Regions from separate parts of the Homo sapiens genome. Here regions 1, 2 and 3 are each linked to region 4. The links are contacts of gene promoters, found by promoter capture Hi-C in blood cells and fetal thymus (Javierre and others, 2016). All regions are on one chromosome and are shown on one strand. Each heading gives the region's core, a stretch centred on a gene start or on the middle of the fragment in contact. The rest is flanking DNA. Distances are from core to core; before and after follow the strand shown.

The links. The method cuts DNA at HindIII sites, captures the fragments that hold promoters and counts their contacts. A CHiCAGO score of 5 or more calls a contact.
Region 1: a contact is called between the fragment with the promoter of HAPSTR1 here and the fragment with the promoter of GSPT1 in region 4, in 4 of 17 cell types (non-activated CD4 T cells, naive CD8 T cells, fetal thymus and 1 more). The highest score is 10.4, in non-activated CD4 T cells.
Region 2: the fragment with the promoter of USP7 here is called in contact with the fragment with the promoter of GSPT1 in region 4 in 4 of 17 cell types (non-activated CD4 T cells, total CD8 T cells, naive CD8 T cells and 1 more); the score reaches 9.0 in non-activated CD4 T cells.
Region 3: the fragment with the promoter of PARN here is called in contact with the fragment with the promoter of GSPT1 in region 4 in 4 of 17 cell types (neutrophils, non-activated CD4 T cells, naive CD4 T cells and 1 more); the score reaches 10.6 in neutrophils.

The regions. Positions count from the first base shown.
Region 1 is chr16:9,088,361-9,094,238 of GRCh38, forward strand. It overlaps HAPSTR1 (HUWE1 associated protein modifying stress responses), which reads left to right and starts at 3,284. Exons shown (of 4, transcript NM_014117.3): 1 at 3,284-3,910; 2 at 4,561-4,641. The coding sequence starts at 3,685. RefSeq lists enhancers at 1,449-2,314, 4,584-4,753 and silencers at 2,225-2,355, 3,144-3,213, 3,384-3,723, 3,934-4,433. The HindIII fragment of the contact is 14,700 bases long and covers 1-5,180 here.
Region 2 is chr16:8,960,906-8,966,687 of GRCh38, forward strand. USP7 (ubiquitin specific peptidase 7) reads right to left here and starts at 3,001. Exons shown (of 31, transcript NM_003470.3): 1 at 2,302-3,001. The coding sequence starts at 2,380. It overlaps USP7-AS1 (USP7 antisense RNA 1), which reads left to right and starts at 1,808. Exons shown (of 2, transcript NR_184341.1): 1 at 1,808-1,989. RefSeq lists enhancers at 1,372-1,908, 4,605-5,228, 5,229-5,782 and silencers at 3,104-3,463, 5,147-5,441. The HindIII fragment of the contact is 5,189 bases long and covers 205-5,393 here.
Region 3 is chr16:14,628,960-14,634,254 of GRCh38, forward strand. PARN (poly(A)-specific ribonuclease) reads right to left here and starts at 1,301. Exons shown (of 24, transcript NM_002582.4): 1 at 1,148-1,301; 2 at 638-715. The coding sequence starts at 1,166. It overlaps BFAR (bifunctional apoptosis regulator), which reads left to right and starts at 3,992. Exons shown (of 8, transcript NM_016561.3): 1 at 3,992-4,059. RefSeq lists enhancers at 269-792, 793-1,314, 1,315-1,837, 3,437-4,004, 4,005-4,574. The HindIII fragment of the contact is 4,468 bases long and covers 1-3,687 here.
Region 4 is chr16:11,913,415-11,919,116 of GRCh38, forward strand. It overlaps GSPT1 (G1 to S phase transition 1), which reads right to left and starts at 2,542. Exons shown (of 15, transcript NM_002094.4): 1 at 1,955-2,542. The coding sequence starts at 2,306. RefSeq lists silencers at 1,672-1,721, 1,762-2,001, 2,092-2,161, 2,872-2,931 and enhancers at 1,986-2,923, 2,532-2,681, 3,982-4,482. The HindIII fragment of the contact is 2,427 bases long and covers 1,241-3,667 here.

The DNA of each region.
Region 1 (5,878 bases), core at 2,034-4,533, 2.8 Mb before region 4:
CTGGGAGGCTGAGGTGGGAGAACTGCTTAAGCCCAAGAATTGGAGACCAATCTGGGCAACATTGCAAAACTATCTCTACAAAAAACACAAAAAATTATCTGGGCATGCTGGTGCACACCTCTGATCCCAGCTACTAGGAAGGCTGAGGCAGGAGAATGGCTTGTACCCAGGAGGCAGAAGTTGCAGTGAGCTGAGATCACGCCACTGCACTCCAGCCTGGGCGACAGAGCGAGATTTCGTCTCGAAACAACAACAAAAAAGAAACTCTTAGAGGTTAACACAAAGCTCAGGGTCATGGAAATCAAGCAGATAGGTGGTGCTTTTCAATATTTATTCCTTTTTCTTTAGACTGTTTTTTCCAACTGACAAATATTTATTATAGAGCCAGCGTTTATGCTATTCAATATCATTCCATCTTGTATGTATGGCTGAAATATTATGTTCTTACAAGAAAAGGCCAGAGGCTTCTGGAACAGGGTCTGAGTTACATGAAGGAGAAGAAGAGCAGCCTTCATTCTGTAAAAACTCGAAACCTTTGGACTGTCCAAAGTGGTGTGTGGCTTTTGAAGCGGAGCCTGCAGGCAGCGAAATCGTCCAGCTGTGTTCTCTCCTTTGTCATACCTACATGTGCAGGCCTGGACTTCCCACGTGCTACCATGAATGCAGAAATGTAGAAATTGACATATCAACAACCATTGATCGTACACTCAGCAGGCAGTTTTATTGATTGATTGATTGATTGAGATGGGGTCTCTGTCACCCAGGCTGGAGTGTAGTGGCACTATCTCGGCTCACTGCAACCTATGCCTTCTGGGCTCAAGCAATCCTCCCGCCTCAGCCTCCTGAGTAGCTGGAACTACACGTGTGTGCCGCCATGCCTGGCTGTGTTTTGTATTTTTTTGTAGAGACTGGGTTTCACTATGTCGCCTAGGCTGGTCTTGAACTCTTGAGTTCAAGCAATCCTTGCGTCTTGGCCTCCTAAATTGTTGAGATTATAGGTGTAAGCTACCATGCCTACCCTCCTAAAATATTTAACTCATATACCTTGTGACTCTAAAATACTATTTCTGAGGATATATATTCAATACACATATGTATATATGCAAGGATGTTCACTGTATTACATATGTACAAGATGTTCATTATGGCATTGTTTATAATAGCCAAAGACTGGTCACAATCTAAATTTGTATCAATAGGGGCCCTGTAAAATACTTTGTAGTGAATCCATACAATGAAATTATTTGCAATATTTTAAAAGAATAAATAAGTCTTTAGGTCCCAATGTGGAGACATCCAAATTATGTTAAGGAAAAAAGGCTTGTAGGATAGTACACATAAAATCATCTTTTTTTTTCCTTAAGAAGGGACATACTTGTATATAGGTACACACACACATACACACTCGACGTACACATAACTCCGTTTTCAAAGGTCACAAGTTATTTCCTGGGAATAGGATTGGGAGGATGTAGAATGAGGTAGGTAGAATGATTTTTGTTTGCTTTTCACTTTATATTCTTCCCTACAATTGGAAACCTGTTTTTTAGCCACCGCGCCAGGCCTAATTTAGCATTTTAGATAGTGATTGATGTTATGAAATAATATAACCAGGCAATACGAGACAGTGTGAAGGGTGCTACTTTAGGCTTGTCCTAGTAGGCTTCCTAAACAGGAGCTATCTGAGGAAAGAGGAGGAGGAAGAGCTTCCAGAGATAGCAGACTGGGGCAGGAAAGAGCCTAGTGTCCCAGGGAAATAAGGCAGGCCAGTGTGTGAGCGTCCAGGCGAGGTGGGGAAGAGGGGGAGTGCGCAAGGTACAAGCCAAGTAGGGGATTGTGTGAGAGGCGCCAGGGCCAGATCCTGCAGGGGTTTGCAGGCCGCGGTGAGGGGGTCAGATTTTCTTCCAAAGCCGCCTTGCTCTGTGCAAGCGCACTATCGCAGGCTGCGGGCGACGCTGCCTCTGGCCGGCGCCCTCCGCCGCTCCAGGCCGGATGGTGCCTCCCGTGGGCATGTAGGTGGGGATGGTGGGTTTTGCCTCTGTGCGGTCACCGCCTGTCTGCGTTGCTGCCTTCTCCGGGGCCTCAGACCCTGGAGAAAGCCCCGACAGGGGAGGGGGGCGCGCAGCCGCAGGGGCGTCCAGCTATCGCGCACTGCGGGGGGAGTAGGGGCGGGCGCAGCGCTCGGCACCGCCACGCGGGTTCGGGCCGGGGAAGGCAGGGGCCGGTACGTGACGCGGGGCATGCACGTGGCCTGGGAGTGTGCTTTTCGGGACAGGTGCGGGGGCCGCCGCGCGCGCAAAGGCGCAGACGCACGCGTGCGGGCACCGGGCACCGTCGGCCGTCGGGTTATCCTTGGCTCCGCGGGCGGCCGCCGAGGTCCTGTCCACCCGGAAGGCGCGACGTCCTCGGGGGACGCCAGGGCGCAGGGGCAACTGAGCCGACTTCGCAACTCGGAAGTTTTTCTTTGGCTGTGATGGTCGATTTGCCCGTCTAAGAAATGGGACTCTGGGCCGGGCGCGGTGGCTCAAGCCTGTAATCCCAGCGCCCTGGGAGGCTGGAAGATCGCCTGAGGCCAGCAGTCTAGACCTCGACAACGTAGCAAGACCCCGTCTCAAAAAAAAAAAAAAAAAAGGGGGAGTACTCAAAAGAATAGGAAAGCGCTTTGCAAACTTGGACACGAGTTGGGCGTTTTATTCACTTTCTCTACTACCCTCCTCCCTTTGGGAGCCCCAGGGGCTGGAGTAAGCACGCTACCACCCACTATACCTCTCAGTGCCCGCGGCACAGGAGCCGCACTCGACTTTGCATCCCCCCAGGGCCTGTACACGCCGGAAAAGCTCCCGCGGGGTGCGGTCGCTGGGCCTCGTCACGTGATCCCCACTCAACGCCCCTGAGCGGGGGGGGGAGCAGCGAGCAAGTGCGCATGCGCATCCCTTCTAGCTCTTCCCCTCCACCCCCCACCCGCCCCCTTGGCTCGGACGCAACCACTGTCAGCTCCTCCCCCTCCTCCTCCTTCATCCTTCCTGACATTCACTCCCTTCCCCCAGCCAATTGGTTACGTCAGGCAGACAGGCCGAAGAACCAATCACGACGCTGTGCTCAGAAGCCGCCACGCGGAACCGGCCGGATCCGACTAATAGGGGCCCTTGGAGCGGCCACGCCTCAACCGGGCAGGGTAGCTTGGGCCCAGTGGGCGGTGCTTCTCCTGTCAGCATGTGGGCGGGGTAGGGCGGGGACCAGCAGCCGCAGAGCCGTCCTCGGCGGTGGCGACGACGACGACGTTGCTCAGTCTTGGGGTGGGCTCCGCGGTGCAGGCCGAGCTGCGCGGAGGGCTCGGCGATCAGCGGCGGCGGCGGCAGTGGGGAGGCCGCAGCGCCATGGGGGGGCGTTAGACAGGCTGCGGCGGCCGAGGCGAGGGGCGGCAGCGGTTATCTGGTCCGCGGCGACCTTCGGCCGGGCCCGGGGGTGGGAAGGCCTGGGGCGGGGGTCGTCCCTGGTTGCACGGGGCCGCGGGGCGGGGCTCGCCGGCCGTCGGGGTGCAGGAGGCCTGGGCCGCTGAAAGGAGAAGGCGCCGTCGGTCGCCAGGCCCTGCCGCCGGGCCGCTTGACGACGACGCTCCCGCGGGGGCCCCGCCTGAGGAGGACGCGGCGGCGGTGGCGGCGAGGCCGCGGGAGGCCGCGGAGGATGGAGGAGCGGAAGGAGGAGGGCGAGGCCGAGATCCAGGAGCACGGGCCCGAGCACTGGTTCTCCAAGTGGGAGCGGCAGTGCCTGGCCGAGGCCGAACAGGACGAGCAGCTGCCCCCCGAGCTGCAGGAGGAGGCGGCGGCCGCCGCGCAGCCCGAGCACAAGCAGCAGAAGCTGTGGCACCTCTTCCAGAACTCGGCCACCGCCGTGGCCCAGCTCTACAAAGGTGAGGCCGCCGCCGCCATCTTGGTACCGCTTGGCCGCCCCCGCCCGGGCCCGGCCCCGGCCCTATCGGCTCAGCGGCCGCTTCGGGGGGCCGCGACGGCGGCGGCCTCGGGGATCCCGGCCGGTGGCTCCGCGGCCCTGCCGCCCCCTCCCCGCAAGATGGCGCCGCGGGAGGGAGGCCCGGGGTTGGGGGGACAGGCCAGAGCCGGCGTGGGGGTAGCCCCGCTTTGGGGTGGTCCGAGGGTCCCCGCTCTCCGGGCCCGGCCACCCGGTGTCCCCCTCGGCCCGGAGACGGGAGAGGAGGAGCCCCCGTCACAAAATGGCGAAGGGAGACGGCGGGGCGGCCCCATTGTGCCCTGAGCCGGCCTCGGGGCGGGGACTGCCAGGGGGGGCGCTTCCCTGCGCCGCGGCTCGTCCCTGATCTGTGCCCCTGAGCTCTGCGGCATCCCCTTTTCCCCGCCGCGACCTCCCTGCCCCCCCGGTCCTCACACTGGGTTTGGGATCCCGAAACCCCTGAACAAAATGGCGAAACCTAATATGGCCGTTCCGGAGTGATTGACGCGCAAATAACATTCTTGTTCTCTTTCTTTCTCTTTCTATGTGTGTTTCTTTTTTCTTTTTGGTTTTTTTTTTTTTTGGCTTGCTTTTCAGACCGAGTGTGTCAGCAGCCAGGACTTTCTCTCTGGGTCCCCTTCCAAAACGCAGCCACCGCCGTCACCAATCTCTACAAAGGTAAAGATAACCTTGCTGCATTGCCGATTCAGGGAAGGGCCGCCTGCGTCAGGGTGTCTGCCCTGCGTTCCAAGTGTGTTTTCTGCTCCCCAGCCCAGCTGCTAACCTTGAATACCTTGCAACTTGAGAATCGCGGCGGTGCTCTAGCTAGATCCACCGGAGGCGATTTTGACACCTCCCTCCGCCCCCCGGGACAGATGGCAACGCCTGGGGACGTTTTTGGTTGGCTTCTCCTAGAAGGGGCTGTTGTTGGGCACCCAGTGTATAGAGGCTGCTGAAGGTCCTGCAGTGCCCAAGATAACCGCCCCGGCCCCCTCTCAGCGAAGAATTATCATGCCCCTAAAGTCAGTAGTGCTCAGGTTGAGAAGCGTTGAGCTGGAAGACGGCTGAGCCTTGCCTCCCTCTGGAAAAGACATTGAGGGAAGATAAGAGTTGATGTTTTTTGTACTACAGTCGGAAGTGGGACGAACTTTATGGAAAAGATTCTTGAGTTAGGCATTTGAAAGCGTGGCAGTCTATATAGTTTTGAAGTGCTTGAAAGCTTGCTAATCGGAGTCATCTGCGCGCATGTTAACGTGCTGCTCTTCTCTAGCAATTTGATCAAGTGTTTTCTGTTAAAAGGATCCTATATTTGATTATAAGTTGCTGGCAGGAATTCTGTTGAGAGTTTTGAGTCCATAGGTTTGTTTTATGGTGGTTCCTTTCTGGAGTTAATCCCCCTCCCTTTGTGATGACATGAAGATGTGTAAGTAAACGTTCTTGCCCATTTGTGCATTCTTGGTAACGGTGGGTTTAGATTTTGTGCCTTACTGGTTTTGAAGATTGAGAAATTTGGGGTTGATTTTTTTTTTTGGCAAGATTTTTATGGAAAAAGGATTTGACTTTGTTAATCTTAAGAAATATGTAATTAAATGTTTTCAGACTTTTAAAAGTTGCTCAGAACAGTAATGGAACTTTGTGCATTTCAAAAATACCAATATTGGTATTTTTGCCATATATATTTAGGCCATATATAGGTTGAAACGGGCTATGAAGGTGCTGCTTGACTGTCAAGTTGTTAATTTTTGCATAAGAATGTGCAAATGGCCGCAGCATCTTGTAGGAAAAAATATCTCCTTGTGAGATTTCTTGAGTAGACTACAGTTTTTTGGGACAGTAATTTGAGAACTGGTAACAAAGTGGTGAAAAGAAACGCTAACTTTAGGGAATGAGGAACTGTAATAATAATAGTCCAGTC
Region 2 (5,782 bases), core at 1,751-4,250, 3.0 Mb before region 4:
GCCTCATGTGCTCACTACAAGAAAAGGGACCTCCTGGATAATGAAATTGAAACAGAGGCCCAGTCAGAAGAAATGAGTTTCTTAAGTTTAAGGAATCAGCATTAGTAACTAAAACCTCTGCCATCCAATTTGAGATTCTGCTAAATTTACAGATTAACTGTCCTAGGGGTTACCTTTCTAATACAAACTGTAATATGAAAATAAAGCTTCATTTTATGAGAAAAGAAAGTAGCCTTGAAAACGTGCATGGAGACTGATGAATTTCTAAAAATTCAACACCCTCTAGTCTTTTAAAAGCAAACACCGGCCAGGCGCGATGGCTCACACCTGTAATCTCAGCAGTTTGGAAGGACGAGGCGGGCAGATCACCTGAGGTCGGGAGTTCGAGACCAGCCTGACCAACATGGAGAAACCCCGTCTCTAACAAAAATACAAAAGTAGCCAGGCGTGGTTGCACATGGCTGTAATCCCAGCTACTTGGGAGGCTGAGGCAGGAAAATCGCTTGAACCCGGGAGACGGAGGTTGTAGTGACCCGAGATCGCGCCACTGCACTCCAGCCTGGGCAACAAGAGCAAAAATCCGTCTCAAAAAAAAAAAAGGGGGGGGGGGGCAAATACCTTGAAATTTGTGGACCTGGTCATTTTCCCAAAGATACAGGTCTGTAACACACATGCTCTGCAGTAATGTCTGTTTATTAATTCTCACTAGTGTCCAAAAACACCTGGAAAGCGGTAGGACAATGTCATGGGAAATCCATATGCTCGTGTTATTGGATATTTGTCTTGACCGGGTACCATTTGAAAAGGAAACTGAAAAGCAACCCTCTTTTATGTTTTAGATGGGCTGCAAAATACAGCACAAAAGGAATACACAAAATTCCCTCAGTAAAGTACTTCTTTTCAGCTATTTGGTTTAATCACACATAACAGGCGCTCTTAGTTGCTGCTTTGCTGGGGCCAAGTGAAACAGATAACCCAGTCCTTGGCGTGGACTCCGCTCTTCTGTCCCCCATTACTGCCATTGATAAATACCACTGGGGAGTGCCTACTGCAGAATCCCAGCCACTTTGTCATTTGCAACCTGGCCAGCCATTTTTTCAGTGACTATCCAATTACTGGAAGTAAGTTATTCTATTCAGAGGTGAACACCAGTCACGCTTAAGTGTTCCCACCAACCGGTGTGCAGCGCCCCACACTTGGAGCCACCGCACAGGACAAATACTGCTTTTCCTGAGCTCCCCTGGAGCTTCATTCATTGAGGCAACCCAAGATCCCTTGCTAAAAGCAAAACTAAAGCATTCCACGCCGTTTTCATTCAGGTGGCCTCCATTTGACTCCCGACAGCCTGAACTCGTCACGTAGGTAAGAAAACTTTTTAAAGACCATTTGGACTTTGCTTTGTTTCAGTGAAATGGGTCGTGAGAAAAAGTGCCTTCCAACGACCAACTCCCTAAATCCAACACCCTTCTCTTTACAGCGTCTTCACATCCAACCTTTACAACCAAGACTCTATACCTCAAACTACAGTGCCTTGGAAAATTACTGCCACATCGGCAGAAAACCGAGTTACCTTTCGAGTCAGGTTTGATTCTGATGCAGGCAGCCATGTGCGGCAGGGCTTTCGCACGGTTGCAAGCGCACACCTGGCCGGATGCTGGCTGCACCACACACTGCCAAGTACAAACTCCCCGAAAAACAGGTGGATTCGGAAACCAACAGCGCCCGGGTCAGAACTCTGGGCCAGTCCAAAACCTGACAACATCTGCGTTCCTTGCAGGTATTTTCGAACGTAAGCCCGACGCTAGGCAGTGCTGTTAGAAAGTGATTTGGAAGAGCGCTTCCGAGCCACGGCGCGCCCTCCGGGGGAGCGCACCGGAGCAGGTGCGGGCGAGCCCCGCGCCCGGGGAGGTCAGGAATTCCCCAGCCACACCAGATCCAACCGGACGCCCCAGAACGGGGACGGTCCCCGGAGTCCGCCTCCCAACCTGGGTGAGAAAACACCTCCGTCCCTCCGCTGCCTGAGCGCTCGAATTTACAACTCAGGGCGCTTTGTGCCGCGGAGGCCCGGCGGACGCGAGGTCGGGACAATGCACGGGGCCGGGGTCCCGGCGGCCGCCCCTCGCCCGCGGACCCGGCATGACTTTGCAGCCTCGCAGGCCGGGGCCGGGAGGCCAGGCCGAGGCCCGGCGGCCGCCCGGGGCCTGGTTAAAGATGGCGAGCCCCTCGCGTGGCTCCCGCGGCTCCCCCGGCCACAATGAAAGGCGCCCCCCGGCCCCGCCGCGGCCGGCCCTCGGGCCTCACCTTCCATCTCCATGTCCTCGGGCTCGCTCAACTGCTGCTCGCCCGCTTTCTGCTGCTGCTGCTGCTGCTGGTGGTTCATGTCGGCCGCGGCCTGGGCCTCGCCTGCGGCCGGGGGCCGGGGCTGCGAGCCCGGCGGGCGGGCGGCGGCGAGCCGGGGCGGCGGCGGCGGCGGCGGCGGCGGGGCGGCCTCCTCCTCCTCCTCCCGCGCGTCGTCGGCGACGGCGGCCCCGGGGCGGCCCGCGGCGGGCGGCGGCGGCGGCAGGGAGACGCGCACGTACTTGCTCGCGATTCGCCCAATCTCGGCGCCGAGGCGGGCGGGCGGCCGGCGGGCCGGGCCGGGCGGCCTCGTCGCTCGCTGCGGCCGCCGCCGCCGCCGCCGCGGGGCCCGCCTCCCGCCGCCGGGGCCGGGGCCGGGGCTGCGGGGCCGCGGGCCGGCCGGGGGCGGAGGGCGGCCGGTCGGGGGCCGCGGAGTCAGCCCCGCCTCGGGCCGGGCGCGGCGGACGGGAGGCCTGGCCGGCCGCGGCGGGCCTGCGGGCCCTGGGGCCGGCGGGAGCGGCGGAGCGGGCGGGCGACGGGCCGGCCGCGTTCCGAGAGCCGCGGCCTCCGCCTCCTCGGCGTCGTCGTCGGGGCTCCGGCAGCGGACGCGGCGCCCGGCAGCTCGGCTCGGCTCGCTCTCAAAATGGCGGCGGCGTGAAATGTCACATCCGCATGGGGGGCCGCGGAGCGAGCGAGCGAGCGAGGAGAGCAAGCGGGCGGGCGCCGAGCCGGAGGGCGGAGCGGGAGCGCAGGGCGGAGCACGGGAGGCGGAGCAGGGAGCGACCCGCCTGCCGCCGCCGCCGAGGCCCGCCTGCCCCGCAGCGCCGCGCCCCGGCACCGCCTGCGCCGCAGCCCCGCGGCGGACCCTCGGCGCTCCCTGCCCCCGGGCCCTGGGGGCCGAGGCGGGCCGCCCGGTGACTTAGCCCTGCGGAGGTGAACCGGAATCCTTCCCATCCTGGGGAGCCGGACACCCCGAAAGACCCAGGAGCGGCAATGAGGAGGGGCCCAGAAGCCACCCGGCAGCCGGGGTTCAGGTCCCAGCCTAGCGCGCCGGGGCGAGCGCTGGAGGTTGCCCGGGGACTGCTCGGGATAGGGCCCGGAAGGGAGCTTGGGGTCAGCGCCTAGAAGTTCCTGTTATTGTCGTTACTTACCCTTGCCCGCTGACGTGCACTTTTTCACCCAGTATCTACCGTGGAAGAATTTATTTTCTCACTGTCAGCCTAATCTGGCAAAGTTTGGCTCCTCAAGAGCAACCCCAGGCGGGGCGCAGCTGCTCACACCTGTGATCCCAGCACTTTGGGAGGCCGAGGTGGGAGAATCACTTGAGGCCAAGAGTAAGAGACCACCCTCTCTACAAAGGTTTTGGGTTTTGTTTTTATATTTTTGAAATGTATTTTTAATTAGCCGGGTGTTGTGCCTCCTGCCTGTAGTGACAGCTACTTGGGAGGCTGAGGCTGGAGGTTCGCTTGGGAGGTTGACTGAGGCTGCAGTGATCAAAGATGGCGCCACTGCACTCCAGCCTGGGCAACAGAATGAGACCCTGTCTCAACTAATAGTGATAATAAAATAATAATATAAAAATAAAACAAGCCCACTACCCTTCACATTTGGTATTAATTTACTTCCTTCCTATCAACCCAGTCTGGGATCATTCACCCGGGGCCTCCCTATTCCAGGAGACATTTGGTGAATATATCTCCTGTCCTGTCTCATTCAGTCATTGACAGACTGATGATTAGGGTCTCAACTTTTCCAGTTAATCAAGGCAGTGTGGGTCAATAAAAATGGAGCAAACCGATATACATTTCTACACATCTCAGGGGAGAATAGAATTTCACCCTAACAAGGCCAGAAGATTGTGGTACCTGTCTTCTCTCCATCTCCCTATACCCGCTTTCCCTGCATTTTTCTCCCATTTATGTACTGTTCATCTCCCTTCCCCCCGAAAGAATGTTTTGCTCACTGTTGTATCACAAATGCCTGGGATACACAGCAAGTGCTCAATAAAAATTGGTTGGGCCAGGTCGGCGCGGTGGCTCACACCTGTAATCCCAGCACTTTGGGAGGCCAAGGCGGGCGGATCACTTGAGGTCGGGAGTTTGAGACCAGCCTGACCAACATGGAGAAACCCCGTCTCTACTTAAAGTACAAAATTAGCCGGGCGTGGTGGCGCATGCCTGTAATCCCAGCTACTCAGGAGGCCGAGGCAGGAGAATCACTTGAACCCGGGAGGTGGAGGGTGCGGTGCGGTGAGCTGACATCGCGCCATTGCACTCTAGCCTAGGCAACGAGCGAAACTCTATCTCAAAAAAAAAAAAAAAATTGGTTGGGCCAGGCACGGTGGCTCACGCCTGTAATCTCAGCACGTTGGGAGGCCGAGGTGGGCGGATCACCTGAGGTCAGGAATTCGAGACTAGCCTGGCCAACATGGTGAAACCTCATGTCTACTAAAAATACATACAAAAAACTTAGCCGGGCATGGTGGCATACGCTGGTAATCCTAGCTACTCAGGAGGCTGAGGCAGGAGAATTGCTTGAAGCCAGGAGGTGGAGGCTGCAGTCAGCTAATCACACCCCTGCACTCCAGCCTGGGCAATAGAGGGAGATTCCATCTAAAATAAATAAATACATAAATAAATATTGGTTGAATGGGCCAGGCACAGTGGCTTACACCCCTTATGCCAGCACTTTGGGAGATTGAGGCGGGAGGATCAATCACTTGAGCCCAGGAGTTGGAGACCAGCCTGGGCAACATAGGGAAACCCGATCTCAATCAGCCAATCAATTAATCAATCATTAGTCAACTGGTTGAATGAACATATGATTCAAGCGTGACTGGATCCCCCTCACCAGCATTTCGTACGCTTGAAGGTTTTTCACCAGTATATTTCCTGCCAGACCACAGAGGTGAGCAGGGGAGAGCCCAGTCACTTCAAAGGAATCCCTTGGGTCACCCCCAGAATCTGAAGAAGAGGTATTGTTATTCACACAGATTCTCACAAATGCTAATCAACAGCGCTCAGATGCAAAAGAGTCCTTCTCTCTAGTATTCTGGAAGCTTGGAGGAGGGAAGAAAGTGCCTTTCTGGCAGAGGAAGAGGTGGCAGAAAGTTATGTATATGGCTGTCAGTTCACATTGGCCAACCTTATCCTCATCACTGAGTTCAAAACCAATCTGGCCGGGCACGGTGATTCACGCCTGTAATCCCAGCACTTTGGGAGGCTGAGGCGGGCGGATCATGAGGTCAGGAGTTCGAGACTAGCATGACCAACATGGTGAAACCACGTCTCTACTAGAAATACAAAAATTAGCCGGGCATGGTAGCGCGCCTGTAATCCCAGCTACTCAGGAGGCTGAAGCATGAGAATCGCTTGAACCTGGGAGGTGGAGGTTGCAGTGAACCGAGATTGCACCACTGCACTCCAGCCTGGGCTATAGAACGAGA
Region 3 (5,295 bases), core at 51-2,550, 2.7 Mb after region 4:
GCAGGCAATGAACACGTCCACTAATGCATAAAGAAATATCTCATTTATCTGCAAAAACCTGACCCTAGCCGGTCACAAAAGGGCAAATATTGTAAGATTCCACTTATATGAGATGTTAAGGGCAGTCAAATTCAGAGACAAATGGCGGTTGCTAAAGGCTGGGCGAAAGGAGAAATGGGGAGTTTAATGTGTAAAGAGTTTCAGACTGTGAAGATGAAGAAGTCCTAGAGATGGATGGTGATGTTTGCACAGCAATGTGAATGTACTTAATGCCACTTAACTGTAAAGCCACTTAAAATGGCAAATTTCATGTTATACCTATTTTACAATCAAGAAAAAAAACAGTCTGACCCTAATCCTCAAGCTCTCTGCAATGTACACGCCGCACTGTTTTAAGCAGCATCAAAACCATCATCTCTATCTGAGATCCTGAGTCCAATCACAAACCTACGGCGTATCTTCATTTCTTTCGTGCTTTTGAAACGTTTAAAGGGTAACACTGAGACCTGTGAAACCCGCCCAAGGCTACTAACAGCAAGAGGCCACCACCAAGCATAAGAAGTTGGGGGCTGGGGGATTGAAGGAGCCTTGGCTATGCACTGCAAAGTGCTAGCCTGAGCTTGCAAGGGAGGGATACCTGAAAACTCCCCATCGATGGCGAAGAAGTCGGCCTCCTCTATGGCCTGGTACACTTTGTGAAGATTACTCTTAAAATCTGCGGAGAAACCGAAAAGAGGCTCAGAACCAGTGGCCTGAATTCCTGCTAAGGGGAGAGGGAAGGAGGGCCGAGGAGCTCCCGAGGCTGAGAGCCGGAAGGGGAAAAGTCCCGGAGGTGTGCACCGGGGCGAGGGGAATCAAGTCCTCGAGGGGTGCATGGGTCAGGGGGGACAAGCCCCGGGGGGTGCCCGGCCCGGAGAAGGACAAGGCCCCGGATGGTGCCGGGGTTGGAGGAGTAAGTACAAGGCTCCTAGGGTGCACGGTCCGCAGCCGGAAAAGACCCCAAGAGGCGCACCGGCTTAAGGAGGGAAAAGCCCTGAGGGGCTGCCTCAGCCCCAGGCCCAGCCAAACACGCCGGCCATGGTCTCGGCCTAGCAGGCCAGGGGCAGCCGGGTGTGGGGAGGCGGGGAGGTGTACGGCGGACACGCACTGCTCCTGATTATCTCCATTCTGCAGAGTGGCCGGAACCTTGGCCCCACCCGGGCCCGCGCCCGCCTCAGCGGTTCTACTCGCCGAATTCCGCGGCGACTGCGGCAGTAGCTGAGGCAGCCGCAGCGGTGACGCCGGCCGCGACTTCCGGAAACAGCGCGCGCCTGCTGCGCTTGCGTCAGCGCCTGCGCGGCGGCGGGGGCGGGGCCAAGGCTGGGCTCCTTTCCCTCCTTATAGGGACAGGGGAGGGGCGTGGCTATCGAAGTCCCCAAGGCGTGGCCTAATTTGTGCGGGCTTTCACTTCAGTAGAAAAAATGTGCATGTCTCGACATCCAGTCGACCAGGAAATACTGACTGGGTTTCTGTGATATGCTAGCCACTCTTACAGGGGTGGAGATACAGTGATGAACAGGAAGACGTGCTCCCTGCCCCATTGTAGCTTAAACTTGGGGTAAGGGGAAATTCAGGCAGGAGTGAAACTTGCCATTTGGTAACACATGAAAATCGCTATTAAGAAAAAGAGCGGGGCGATGTAATAGAGAATAATGGGATCCGGGTGCGGTGGCTCACGCCTGTAAGCCTAACACTTTGGGAACCCGAGGCGGGAGGATCCGTTGAACTGAAGAGTTCGAGACCAGCCTGGACAGCATAGTGAGACCTGTCTCTTAAAAAAATAAAATTAGGCCGGACCCGGTGGCTTATGCCTGTAATCCCAGCACTTTGGAAGGCCGAGGCGGGCGGATCACGAGATCAGGAGTTCGAGACCAGCCTGGCCAACATAGTGAAACCCTGTCTCTACTAAAAATATAAAAATTGGCTGGGCTTGGTGACTCATGCCTGTAATCCTAGCGATTTGGGAGGCAGAAGCGGGCGGATTACCTGAGGTCAGAAGTTCAAGAGCAGCCTGGCCAACATGGTGAAACCCTGTCTCTATTAAAAATACAAAAAATTAGCCGGGTGCAGTGGTGCGCGCCTGTAATCCCAGCTATTCGGGAAGCTGAGGCAGGAGAATCTCTTGAACCTGGGAGGCGGAGGTTGCTGTGAACCGAGATCACGCCACTGCACTCCAGCCTGGGTGACAGAACGAGACTTGTTTTCAAAAAAAAAATTAAATTAAATTAAAAGAATAATAGGGGTTGTTACTTAGGTGATCACGGAAAGCAAAGCTGAGACCCTTAGCTACTGCATTAGCCTCTGGGAATACTATGTCGAGTGCAACATATGAGGCCCGGCCCTAATGGAATTGTATGTTGGTTTGGGGTTGCTGTTCTCCAATGCCTAGCACTGGGCTGACACGTAGTAGACACTCAATAAGCATGGGTTGAATGAATACATTCAGGTTGGTCTTTCACAAAAGCCAACTATGAAAAGTTGGTTAGTGCCGGATGCGATGGCTCACGCCTGTGATCCTGGCACTTTGGGAGGCCGAGGCAGGCGGATTGCTTGAGGCCAGGAGCTCGAGACCAGCCTGGGCAACACGGTGAAACCCCATCTCTACTAAAATACAAAGAATTAGCCTGGCGTGGTGGCGCACCCCTGTAGTCCCAGCTACTCGGGAGGCTGAGGCAGGAGAACTGCTTGAACCCGGGAGGCGGAGGTTGCAGTGAGCCAAGATTGTGCCACTGCACTCCAACCTGGGCGACAGAGCGAGACTCCGTCTCCAAAACAAACAAACGAACAAAAGGAAAGTTGATTAGAAGACCTATTTTCAAAATCTATCTCAGCCACTTATTAGTTCTGGAATGCATTAAACCTTCCTAAACCTCAATTTCCTGGGATTGTATTGAGGCTCAGTGGTGCTAATGAATGTGAACTGGGAAGCAGCGTATTAATAAATCTGTATAAATAACTGTTTAATGGGGGCCTGGCGCCATGACTCACACCTGTAATCCCAGCGTTTTCGGGGGCTGAGGCAGGAGAATCGCCTGAACCCAGGAGTTCCAGACCAGCCTGGGGAAAAGAGCGAGACCCTGTCTCCATAAAAATAAAATGAAATTTTAAAATGAGCCAGGCGTGGTTGTGCACGCCCGTAGTCCCAACTATTCACGAGGCTGAGGTGGGATAATCGCTTGAACCCGGGAGGCGGAGGTTGCAGTGAGCCAAGATCGTGCCACTGTACGCCAGCCTGGCGGGTGAGAGTGAGACTCTGTCTCAAAAACAAACAACAACAACAAAACAAAACCAAATAATCAGCATAAGTTCTAGACGCTGTGACCTAGACGCTGGGAAGGGGCGAAACGTGGTGATAAGAAAACCATTTCAAGCTGTACGAGGTGGCTCACGCCTGTAATCGCAGCACTTTGTAAGGCTGAGGCAGGAGGATCCCTTGACGCCATATGTTCAAGATCAGCCTGGAAAACGCAGCGAGACCCCATCTCTACGAAAAAAAAAATATTTTAATAGAAATAAAAGTCATTTAATTCCGATTCTTAACACCGTAAATTGAACGTATAGTCCTGTGATTTTCTACATAAAATGTGAAGGCAAAAAATAACTGTAGAGAGTACGGTGCGGCCTTGTAATATTTTAATTTCTAGGCAAAGCTTGTATCCTCCGGATACAAGAACAGCCGCCCAGGAGGAGCGGAAACTGACACACACCCGTCACCCCTTGGGCTGTGACTGCCGAGCCCGGGTACTCGGTCTCTGGGTGAAGAGGAAGGGGCGGGACCGGCGGTATTACGCATGCGCCCACTTCCTCCGGCTGGGAGTGGCCGCTCTAGGCAGCGGGGAGGTCGCGGGGTTGAGGGGGGTTGTGAAAGGAGAGCGGCCTCTCCTCTATGGTCACGGGGCCGGGGCACGCTTCCCCCACTCTGTCTTGTTACTTCCGGTAGCGAAGCCTCTCCCTCTTCCTCTGCTCCCGCGGGGTCTGTGCTGAGAATAATGGCCCGGTTGGCCCGGGACGAGTGGAATGGTAAGCCGCGACACGGCTGGGGGGTGCTGAGGGGGCGACTCGGGCTTGATATCGGGGAGTGATGTGGAAGACGGAGCGGGAATCCCTTCTGCGGAGCCTCCCCAGCCGGGTCGTAGGAGGCGCGCGGGGCCTCTCCTCACGCAGGCCCGAGTCCTGAGCATCCCCACTCCTGGCCGCGGGGTTCGGACCCCAGCTTGGCCAACTGCGCTATCCCTTCCCGAGAGCCCCACGTCCGCACAGCCGGTCGCTGGGCCTCGCCTGCGTCCTTTCGGGGGTCAGGGTCAGAGCCACTCCCTCCTGGGGCTCCCTAGGGCGGGAAGGAGGAGGGGTCGCTTCCAAACACCTTGGAGGGGAACCACGGGGCGCCTGCCCGCCAGGAGCGCTTGCCACACCCTGCAACAGCCGGACCAGAATTGATGAGGCTTCTGATAGTCGCCACGCTGAGTTTACGGTCTAATTGTCGAGGCACGTTCCTGGCCTAAGGCGGAGCGATTGTGCCCATTCTTTAAAGTAGGGTGACCGAAGCGCAGAAGGGAGAAAGTGAAATCCCAAAGTCACACTGGGGCCAGGCAAGAACTCGGCTCTTCTGATTCTGCGACTTGCGGCTCGGAAATAACTTAGGCAAAAGAGAATTTTCTTTTTTTTCTTTTTAGAGACGGAGTCTTGCCCTGCCGCCCAGGCTGGAGTGCGGTGGAGCAATCTCGGCTCACTGCAACCTCCGCCTCCCAGGTTCAAGCGATTCTCTTGCCTCAGCCTTCTGAGTAGCTGGGATTACGGGCCCGCGTAACCACGCCCGGCTGATTTTTGTATTTTTAGTAGAGACGGGGTTTCACCATGTTGGTCAGACTGTTCTCGAACTCCTGGCCTCAAGTGACCCACTCGCCTCGGCCTCCCAAAGTGGGGAGATTACAGGCGTGAGCCACCGCGCCCGGCCGAGAATTGTCTTTTATTAAAAAAGCCGGCGGGAGGGGGCGACAGATGAGAGTCAGGTTGTGTCTAAACGGGGACCTTTGGAGGGGCAGGAGGCAGCATCCCAGCTTCCGCGGAAAACAGAGTGAGAGCCTAGACGCTGTTAAGCCCTCAACTGTCGCCATTGGGTCCTCCCCGCCGAAGCCCATTGGTCGGTCCTTTGCAAGGGGGGTGGTCTTGATGTCATGCTCCAAATCGCCAATAGGAAAGAGCTTTACTCTCTTCCCAGGACACACCCCCGAGCCGGCAGGGACTGCACGTGCTGAT
Region 4 (5,702 bases), core at 1,292-3,791:
TACTTCCCTACAGGTTTTCGCATCTCCAATTTCTAGCACTGTCAAAGAGAAAAAGATTAGGTGTAACTACAAATTAGCAACTATCAGGAAGAGAGAAAGCCCGCATAAGAGGTAATACCTAGTCACCAACAGTGACCATTCTAGACCAAGGTTGGTTATCCCCGGATGACTCGCTGGACAGGCTGTAAATGGAGTCCTGAGTCTAGTCAGAGTGGTGCTGGTGGCTCCACAGAAAGGAGGAAGAGCCAAGAAAGAAAATGGCTGGATAAACGGAATCTGCAAAGTAAGGTAGGGAATGGGCACTTTTAGGAGCTGAGAAGTGAACTAGGTTAGGCAGTCAAAATGGCTTGATGTAAGTCAAGAATTACAAGCTAAGCTTCCTTATTCAAGAGGAAAACATTGTCTAGAGCCGTACCACCCTGAAAGTGCTCGATCTCCTCAAAAGAAAACATCAACCACCCACACAAATAAATGCCACTGTCAACAAAACCACCAAATCAACCGTGCTGACGTACATACGTCATCAGAGTGTTTCTCCAGACACTATCCCTTTACCACGAAAGAGCAAACGGTGACAAAAGTTTCTGTAGAAACCAAACTCCTGGAGCACTTTTATAATGTCCACTTATCTAAGAACCACCACAATACAGAACTTTAAAGAGAGAAATCAACAATATGTTCTCACTTAAAATGCGCTGGATGTCATGACCCACCCCACTAACGTCCTGGCTAAATGATGAAAGGACGTTCAGCCTTTTCCTTCCTTTTTCATTTTCTCTTTAAGGAAACACTGATAGTTCCTAAAATAAGCACCATTAGGAAGAGAATACTTAAGTTCACTCATTTGACATTCCCACAAAATCAGTACCTGAAAGCAAGCTACCTACCACAAAATAAGCACCATTATGAGAATACATAAGTTCACTCACCGGATATTCCTACAACGTCAGCACCTGCAAGCATGCTACCTACGACTTAAGCAACCCCTAAGTACGGGAAGATGTTTAAAAACCAAAGTTAACTCGAAATTTTATGGATTAGAAAATGTATGTCTACTAGCTACGGTCAGAAAGACACGTGAGAACTATTAAATTATAACAAATGCTCAAGTGTCTGAAGAAATAGACTGAACTACTGATGCACGAACACAGTGAGTTATTCCAAGCAATCTGAATAAGGTCAACGATTTTACAGCAATGAAAATTCTCTAAACGTGTCGCTGACAAAGGATAAAAGTGTAAGCTTCACTTTAAAAAGACACAAATCAATATAGTCTCCTATCACACATTAAGTGAGGAATCCTAACTTTGTGGCACTTTGTAAACTTTAGAAGCGTACACAATGCTAAGGGTAAAACAGATCTTGGTATTGATAGCCAAGTTTCTGCCCGATCACAAGGCTGCAATGCATCTTGGGATTCCTTCAGGACGGTTGGGGGCCACGGACAGTTTAAACCGTAATTACAGTTTCAATAGTAGAAAACGCAGCAGAAGACGCTCTCTCGGCTGGGCCTAAGGTGAAAGGAAAACTCGGCCATTCGTCCTCCCCAACTCCTGGGATCTCTAAACGCCCACCCAAATGACTCCTGGCTCCATCTGTCCTCATTCTGCGCCTCGTGGCAGGGATCCGCCGCGGCCCCCACTCCGTTCCATACGGTTCCCATCTCAAGTGGGTAACTGCGGACTCCAGAGCAGGGCAGGGGCGCGGAGGGGCGGCACTCGGGTCCGGGTCTTTGGGCGCGCTGCCCGCTGTCCGCTCCCCGCCCGGCCACCGCCGCGGGCCGCCCCGCGAAGGCCGGCTCCCGGGCTCGGGGCGCCCCACCCAGGCAGACGGCGCCACTGTCAGCGCCCCACGTGCCGACCGGGCCCCAGGGCCGCGCGCCCCCGGACCGCACCCCTACGCCATGTGGGCTCCGGCGCCCGGCCGGACTTCCTCCCGCGTCCCGGGCCTTTACCCGCACGGCCTCCCGCGCCGCTGCCGGCTCCGTGGTTATTGGCGGCGCCGCCAACTGGGGGTGGCGGCGCTGCCGGGCCCCGCAGGAAGGACGGCACGAACTCGGCGGCGTGGACGTTGGGCACGAAGGGCTTGGCGTTGACGTTGAGTTGCCGGCTGAAGGCCGCGCTGAGGTTCTCCCGCTGGGCCTCGGCCGCCGCCGCCAGGGAGCCGCCGCCGCCGCAAGGGCCCGGCCCGGGGGCTTCCATGTCCGCCTGGTCCCAGCAGTCAGGCGCCGAGTCGCTGCTGCTGCTGCCGCTGCTGCTCCCGCCGCCGCCGCCGCCGCCGCCGCCGCCGCCACTGCCCGGATCCATGATCGGGGGGGCCGTGTGTGTGGTGGACAGAGAGCGGGAAATGGAGGCAGGGGCGCCCGGCCGGAGAGGAGTGGGCAACGCTGACTGAGGGAAGGCGGCGGGGCAGAAGGGCCGGGAGCTAGCGACAAAGATCCCCGGCGTCGCCGCGGCAGCAGCTCCAGTCCCGACTCCACACTCGCGACGACGACAGAGGCGGCGGCGGCGGCAGCTCAACCCTCCTCCTCGTGTGTGTGAGCGGATCTCCTCCCACCCAACCACCTCCGACGGCCTCACAGCCAACCCCACCCCCGGCGCGGATTGACCCCTCGCCGCCACCCGTACCTTCGCCTCGGTAGTTCTCTGTTCTGGCCGCCCCCGTTTCCGGCTATTTAGCGCGGCGGGAGGTGGAACTACAAGTTCCGGCAGCGCCCGCGCTACCCCGCTGCGGTTTTCCCGGGGGCCGACGGGAGTCGAAGTTCAGGGACAGGGCGCAACCGGAAGCGGCTCCGGCTCCCGGCAGGCAACGCGAGGAGGCGGAGGTCTGGTGGCCGCTCGGCGGCCCCACCTGTCACCTGGTGGGGGGGCAGCGGCAGGCCCTGGTTGGTGCAGCTCTGTGCTGGGCCGAAGACCGAGAGTATTTTAGCCCATAGGAGGGGTCCACTCTGGCCTGCTGGACACAGGCTGGGGGAAAACGGACAGCATCTATAACATGGGGAAGAAAAATACACTCAGCTCCCGAAAATTCTTGTACTCTCTTTTCACCACCTTTCCTGCGTTCTCTGCCTCACAGTCTCCGTACCTTATTCTCTCTCCACCTTCTTTCTCCTCACCCCCAGCCAGATTTTGCCCTTCATTTCAAAGCCGGTGCAGATTGCAAAGCTGATTTCATTTTATGTAATCATTTCGTGGAAGAAACAATAAAACCGTGAGATATTCCGGCTTAAAACTGCAGTGTGGCTCATAAAGCGCTGGGGCCCAGGCTCTGCCCAGGCAGAAGGGATTGTTAACTGGAAAATTTCAATGACTCACCGTTTGTTTGACTAGTCATATAAAGCCTTCACCCAAATTTTTCCATCCTTTCCTCCTCCCCGCCAAAGGGTTTGCAAATTAAACAGAGGATTGCCGTATTCCATGGTGTATCCGGCTTACCTAACAGGGTTATTTTGGTGAGTCTAGCTTCCTTATGCACCATTACGTGAAGTGGTTTCCTTTTGAATGGTCTGATTTGCTCAAGAATTCCCATAGTACTTTTCATCGACTGCATCTTACACTTACAGATTAGGTAAACCTGGGAAAAGAACAAAAGCAAACGAGAAATACTTAAGAGTTCGCATTTAGGCCCTTCATGAAGTAGGAAAAAATGTTGCTCTGAGTACCTGTTAAGCTTTCCTGTAATTCACCCATGTGGAGCCCAAGACAGAGAAAAACATATTGTTAGTATTTTTCTGAAAGGAGTCTAGACAGGGTGCAACTAATCTGCCTAGAAATTACAGACTAAAGAAGCACATACATAGAATAGATGTTTCTGAACAACCTTAGGTTGTTAAAAAAAAAAAAAACCTAACAAAATCCAGATCTAGATCTGTATTTTAATTTTCTTTTTTCTTTTTTTTGAGACGGAGTCTTGCTCTGTAGCCCAGGCTGGAGTGCAGTGGCGCGATGTCGGCTCGCTGCAAGCCCGCCTCCCGGGTTCACAACATTCTCCTGCCTCAGTCTCCGGAGTAGCTGGGACTAGAGGCGCCCGCCATCACGCCCGGCTAATTTTTTTTGTATTGTTATTAGAGACGAGGTTTACACCGTGTTAGACAGGATGGTCTGGATCTCCTGACCTCGTGATCCGCTCGTCTCGGCCTCCCAAAGTGCTGGGATTACAGGCGTGAGCCACCGCGCCCGGCCGATCTGTATTTTAATTTTAAACATCTGTATTGTAAAGATAAAAGAGAACTCAGCCTAATGAGATAGGTCAAAAACGAAGCTGTCAAGTATTTTTCAAAAGAGTCCTAGGCTACAGTAATTTGAATTTAATATTAAACTACCAAGCTTTAGGGATTAAAAAAACACATACCGGCCAGGCGCAGTGGCTCACACCTGTAATCTCAGCAATTTGGGAGGCCGAGGCAGATGGATCACGTGAGGTCAGGAGTTCGAGACCAGCCTGGCCAACGTGGTGGAACCCCCGTCTCTACTAAAAATACAAGTTAGGCCGGGCGCGGTGGCTCACGCCTGTAATCCCAGCACTTTGGGAGGCCAAGGTGGGCGGATCACGAGATCAGGAGATTGAGACCATCCTGGCTAACACGGTGAAACCCTGTCTCTACTGAAAATACAAAAAATTAGCCGGGCGTGGTGTGCGGGCGTCTGTATTGCCAGCTACTCAGGAGGCTGAGGCAGGAGAATGGCGTGAAACCAGGAGGCGGAGCCTGCAGTGAGCCGAGATCGCGCCACTGCACTCCAGCTTGAGCGACAAAGCGAGACTCTGTCTCAAAAAACAAACAAAAAAAGCGATCCACCTGCCTCAGCTTCCCAAAGTGCTGGGCTTATCGGTGTGAGCCACCACACCCGGCAGAGTTTGCCTCTGCTTAATAGGAAGTTTTGGTTATAGCCTATTATTATACCTGAAGACCTCACTGAATCATACTTAACAATGTCCATTTTAAAGTTGGTATTAAGTGACTGTCAGATTTACAGAGAACTTAACAACTGTTATGAAAATTAGAACTTCATTTATGCGAGACCTGTATTGCTATTGAATAAAAGATTTTCATCTTATATTCACAAGAAAAAATACAATGTGTTCTAAATGAAATGCCTTCTCTTTCCAGATTTTCACTCCCCACCCACCCACCCCTAAGAAAATGTCAACACAATCAGCTGACTCAAATAATGAACTACACATCCTTCTCTAAGCATTTTGTCTTTGAATACTACTCTCCTCCATGTAGCACTCCTACAGCACTGAATGATCACTTTCTCATAGGTTAGTTCTTCACATCTAATTGAATTAGCAGAGTTTCCTTCTGCCTGGTACTTTTTCTAGGGACAAAGGCAGAAACTGCTCAGACTGCTGCTTAGAAAAGCAGTTGATGTCATTAATTTCCTTGTCTCTGAATAGGATAATTATGGATATTCAGGAAAAAATCCACTCCATTGGTTTTCCAAAGCTTTGACCTGCCAAACAGAGCTCCAGCGGAAAAGGGAAAAGTCTTTCTTGTTAGTTGTGCTAAGTTGTGTGTAAGTTGTGCGACTTGAGGGCAGGGTCTTACCTTAATCTTCTTTACATTTCCACTGCCTAGTGTAATGCCCGGTGTATAAAAGGTGCTTAATCAATTTAGCTGGGATGATACTGTCCTTTGATACTCATTTAAGACTGCTGACACATAGGGCTAATAATTTTATTTATTTATTTATTTTTTAAAT